2 separate regions of the Homo sapiens genome follow, and region 1 is linked to region 2. The links are contacts of gene promoters, found by promoter capture Hi-C in blood cells and fetal thymus (Javierre and others, 2016). All regions are on one chromosome and are shown on one strand. The core of a region is centred on a gene start or on the middle of the fragment in contact, and the rest is flanking DNA. Distances in the headings are between cores, read along the strand shown. Region 1 has its middle 5.4 kb from the start of OR6J1. Region 2 holds the start of ABHD4 (abhydrolase domain containing 4, N-acyl phospholipase B).

Region 1 (2,700 bases), core at 69-2,568, 51 kb after region 2:
AATGGGACTATATAATATCACAATATAAAGCCAAAGTTCATGAAAGGGAACACGATCTATTATAATATCCATCACCCAACCACAGTGACTGATCCAAAGAGTGACCATCCAACCCAAGGCAGGCCAGGAATCCCTCCTTTAGAATCCATATGTTGGAGCAGAGTTAGGAAAAGCTCTCTCCTCTGGGCTCAAAAGCTGTGATGATGTAACCCTGAGCTGCCAGTAGATCTACACCCAGCCTCACCCTTCCACTGTTGCACGGAGAGAGCCTTTCTGCTGTCTGGATTCATGAGGACAACACACCAATGGAAATGCAGCTAAGAGACAGAGATAGAATTTGGACACTGTTGTGTATGACTGGATCAGTCATGCCTGAGGCCTGCCAACAATATCCTTTCTGATTGTACAAGCCAAAAAATCCTCCGTTTTTCTTAAGTTCATTTGAATTATGGTCTTCTGCAGTCATAAGAGCTCTAACAAACACAGAGACTAATTAGTAAGACGCTGGTGGGTACTTTTCTGAAAAGTTGTGTAGAGTTGGGGCTGGAGTAGGTGCCATAGCAAACCAAAGTGATTCCTAAGCTGAAGTCATAGGGGAGCAAATAAACCATCAGTGATAGTAGAGACCTTGTTTCAAAGAGAAGTGTAACAGTAGCTTAGACTCAGAGACAAGTAATGACTGAGGGAACACGGGCCCACCGGAAAGGATGGTGGCAGCCTGAGCTGCTGACTTTCTTGTTCCAATCCCTGTGTGCCTTGTTCCTACTCTTGGATGCCCATGAGAGACTGCCTGATGTATTCTTTCTACAATCTTACACATACACACACACACTCACATACACACAAGACTTTAGTCAACTAGCTTGAGTAAGCCTCTGTTTTTTAAATTCAAAGTATCAATGAGTAAGAAAATAGTGTTCATACATCACATTTCTAATCAGAAAGTTATTTTTAAGATCCAAACAAACTTTTGCTCTACAGAAATTTATTTAACATAAATGACATTTATAAATTTATAGATTAAGGCAAAAATTCACTTTAAAGGTCAATGACCTTTGGACAATTTCTGTACAAGGACAATACTTCCAGAAAGTTTAAGGCTGTCAACCTTATTCTGCTTTAACTCCAGCCACTCTCATGTCTGCCTTCCCTTACTTGAGCATGGTAATGGGTCTGGCAACTGGCTAATTATAATAGGCGACAAGGATGAATATGTTTTAGGCCCAACCAACAATTTTATGATGTACTAGCAACTCTCATGAGGATGTCATTCATAAGTTGGTTTTTTTTTAAGTACTAGTTCCACTATATAATTGATGTTTTATATTAGCCATCTCCCCCTCCCCACAATTGTATATGATCATAGGAATAGAATTTTGAAGATGGAAGGACCCTAGTTCTATAACCTCCTCATGTCACAGAAGGGTGTTAAGTCTAACACAGGTCAAATGAATCACCCAAGGTAACAAAACTTTGAAGGCAAAAACTCCAGCTTTCTTGACCAGAGCAGTATAGAGAAGAAAATCAATGAAAGCTAGTGGTACAGGCACAGGATTCATGGAAGATGTGAGATTAAAATCAAGACTTAGCCTTTCAATACAGGGCAATGAGTACCACCAGACTATGAGTAGAAAGAGCCAGGTACTGGCTCAGGCTATGCCTTATCCATTTATATGACTCCCTGAAGGTAGAAACTAGGTTTTATTCTTCGTGGTATTCCCTACGCCCAATATCATAACAAAGACATGAGAGAAACTCAATAAAAAAGTGAATAAGGAGTGGGTGAGTAAGTAAGCAAATAGATAGGAAACCTAATACTCTGGAGAAGTCTATGTAGAAAAGGAAAAAAAGGGCCGGGTGCTGTGGTTCATGCCTGTTATCCCAGCTACTGAGGAGACTGTGCCCGGAGGATCCCTTGAGCCCAGGAGTTTGAGACCAGCCTGGGCAACATAGTGAGCCCTCATCTCAGAAAATGGGAATAGAGCCTCGGTGAAAGCCTTCAGTTAAAAGGCAGGAGAAGGAGTCACCACTGGGAACAAGAGAAAGAGTAGTGAGAAAGCAAACCAACAGAAAGCCAGTGGTACAGGATTAGCAAGCAGGGGAGGAGAAATCCAAGACGTAGGTATGTCAGCAGTGCCAGAAACTAGGAAAAGGTTATGAAACATGAGAGCGAAGGAAAAGTCATTGGATAAAAAATTTTTAAGGCTAAGTGTCTATTGCTAAGCAAGACTAGCAGCATATTTTGGCTAGGCAAGAACTGGGGTTCCAGTGTGGCTGAGAAGAGCAGAAAACATCCATCCCCAGCCTCGCACCACTGGCATGCTTCCTGAACCCACCCCTCAGAATATCTGCTTACATTAGTGCCTCTATTTCCACAGCAAATAGAGATAAGAAGAGTCCCTTTATATCTATTTGCATATACCAAATTATGTTAAAAATCAGGATTCTCCCAGGGGTAAAAACGGACTGGAAAAAAAAAAAAAGGACTGGAACGTTGATCCTCATTTAGATTCAAGAACATAAAAATAGGTCTGATGTATGCAAGTGCCCGTAGTCTGAGGTTAGGTTACAGAAAAGGATTATGGAGCCTCTAAGAAGGAACTCACCACAAGGGAAGAAGGACTCTGAACTGGTGAGCTGTGTTCAGGCACAGCTCCTTAAGTACACTGTATGTCTGCGATCCTGGCAGTGTAGAGAATC
Region 2 (2,700 bases), core at 104-2,603:
AAAAATGCTTTGATAAACCCCTGTGCACCAGCATTCTCTCACCCATCCTCCACCACTCCCCAGTCTGGTTTTTTTTGTTTGTTTGCTTGTTTGTTTTTGGTTTTTGAGATGGAGTCTCACTCTGTCTCTCAGGCTGGAGTGCAGTGTCACAATTTTGGCTCACTGCAACCTCCGCCTCCTGGGTTCAAGCAATTCTCCCTGCCGCAGCCTCCCCAGTAGCTAGGATTACAGGTGCCTGCTACCACACCTGGCTAATTTTTTGTATTTTTAGTAAGAGATGGGGTTTCACCATGTTGGCCAGACTGGTCTCGAACTACTGACTGCAAGTGATCCACCCACTTTGGCCTCCCAAGGTGCAGGGATTACAGGCGTGAGCCACCGCGCCCCACCCCTAGTCTGGTTTTAACTAAGGGGATGATCTGAAATCTGACAGTTCCAGGGAGGTCAGGCCCTGTTTACCGGTACAAGCAAATTCAGCAGCCAGCCTCAAGATTTAGCTCCTCTGCTGAGCAAACTGAAGTGCACTCAGGACCTCTGGGCCAAGCCAGCCTTATCTCCCTGTCCCCGCATTTACATACCGAAAGGAGACCTAGCCTTATTGGTGAGTCCTTCAACTGTTATCCTCCAAACTGAGGGTGACCTGGAGTTGAGCTATATTTTCCCTGGAAAATAGGTTGGGGTCAGAGTCAACATCAGAGCAGAGATATGCCCATTTTGGCAGATGTCATATAGGTTTAGGTTTGCCAGAGAAAATACAGGATGCCTACTTATGTCCCAAATACTGCATGGCCCATACTTATTCTAAAAAAGTATTTGCTTTATTTAAATCTGGAATTTACATTTAACTAGGTGTCCTGTATTTTAGTTTCGAAATCTGGCATCCAGGCCCTTTGTAGGAGCATTCAACCAATGGCGTTGTCTCCACAAACATTTAAGCCTCTTACTAGAAGGAACATTAACAAGGGTCGATTTCAGGAGGACACAGTTACAATGGGAAGCCCAAAGAGTGGGTGCGAGCGTGCAGGCGTAGTTCTACCACTTTTTAGTTATGAGAGAAGGGAGGGCTGTCGGAGCTCCTGCAAGGACTCCCCCAAATGTGTGACCAGGATTACTGTCCCATTCTGAGACCGTCAGAGACATCTCTGCCGGGACACATGCCAGTGATTGAAAACACAGCAAGGGCCCCACTAGCTGAAACCAAGTTGCAGAGTTTTGAGGGTCCCACCGCCGACCGCCGGCCCGCCGCGAGCCCTGCCCCCTGCGCGGCCACGCCCCCTTGCTCCCCGCGGCCTCCCGGGTCAGCTGGTGCTGGCGTCAGGCGCTGGGCGGGCTCGCCAGGACCTGGCAAGGCTTGTTTACTATGGCCGATGATCTGGAGCAGCAGTGAGTTAATCCTGTCCCTTTCTCTCTTTCTCTCTCTCTCTCTGGGCCATGATCCTGGGACTGTCTGTGGCTGAGGAACAGTTGTAGACACCTTCCCGCTCTTCCTTTTCCAGGTCGGCCTCCGGGGAGGGCGGGGGGTGGGTGCGTTGCTTGCTTTGCATTTGCCCAGAAGAGGCAGCGGCTGAGCCTGGGGAGCCATGGGAGACGCGCTCGCCCGCAGCCCGGGGATCCTGGCTTTCTACCTTAGTCCTCGCGAGTGCCCCTCATTCTCCTCTGGCCTCTGGAGAGATTCCATGTTGATGTGTGAGATCCCCGAAAGCAAGCTTGTGGGACGCGGGTGCGGAGGTAGCAGCCAGGCGTGCTCGTCTCGACTTGCCCCCCAGAACGGCAGTCGTGGGGATGGAGAGAGCCTCCTCCCTCCGCCCGGCAAAGAGAAGATGTGGAGAGACTGGAGAGGTCTCCATCGCGCTGAAATTGGTGTGGAACAACGGGCTTGCAAGTTTCTTTAGCTGTCGCCCACCGAGACACGTAGCCGCATGTGATCCTAGTTGATAATGCTTTTAATAATCGTAACAACATCTTTAATGCAATGGTTTCAGATTTAGAGCTATTGGGATTTGCTACCACTCTTTCAAGGGCATCAGGTTTGGGATACCACCTGTAGGTGGTGTGACTAGCAGTTCGCAATCTGATAGGAGTAAGAAAAAGTTGCTACGAGAAGAATGACTCAGCTCCCAGCCGAGCCTTGGTTTCACCAGAACTGGGCCTTTCCTGGACCCAGTAATCCTGTTTTTCAGACCTGTAGAACTGGAAGTCCGGGGAACTAATTAACTTTATGACCATAATTAATAGCTTGCTGGGCTTGAAAGAAATGTCCAGGGGAATGTTTTACTTTCTAAGATGACTTTTCCAAGAGGAAATTTGCAATGCTTTAAAGGACTTAGGGAGGCAGAATATTAGAGCTGGAGGACATGCAGGTAGTTCAGCTCCTTTTTAAAAATGAAGAAGCTGGTGTCCATAGAAATTAGGAGACTTGCCCAAGATCACAGAGGTCTAGAACAGGATTCTCTCCCAGCACAGAACCCCTTGTGCTTCACCCCCATCAAGTTGACAGAGACCGTCCTAGCCAGGTTAAGTTCATGGCTGAATGTCTTTTCTGCTCCTTGCCTCAATTTCCCACTCCAGCCCTTACCTCCCGCATAGTTTTGAGCACATACAGTGTGCCAGGCACCATTTCCAGTGTTTACTTGTAACATTTTTGGTGAAGAAGGAAAGCAAAGTAATTCTCCCACCAAGGACTCTCTGCTGAGCAGTCTA

What was found. The method cuts DNA at HindIII sites, captures the fragments that hold promoters and counts their contacts. A CHiCAGO score of 5 or more calls a contact.
Region 1: a fragment that was not itself captured here is called in contact with the fragment with the promoter of ABHD4 in region 2 in 4 of 17 cell types (M0 macrophages, M1 macrophages, megakaryocytes and 1 more); the score reaches 7.0 in M0 macrophages.

Annotation. Positions count from the first base shown.
Region 1 is chr14:22,648,435-22,651,134 of GRCh38, forward strand. No RefSeq gene overlaps it. Among named protein-coding and RNA genes, the nearest start is that of OR6J1, 5.4 kb to the left of the region's middle. The HindIII fragment of the contact is 5,780 bases long and covers 1-2,700 here.
Region 2 is chr14:22,596,947-22,599,646 of GRCh38, forward strand. ABHD4 (abhydrolase domain containing 4, N-acyl phospholipase B) reads left to right here and starts at 1,354. Exons shown (of 7, transcript NM_022060.3): 1 at 1,354-1,383. The coding sequence starts at 1,361. RefSeq lists a silencer at 1,039-1,238 and an enhancer at 1,349-1,588. The HindIII fragment of the contact is 5,320 bases long and covers 1-1,704 here.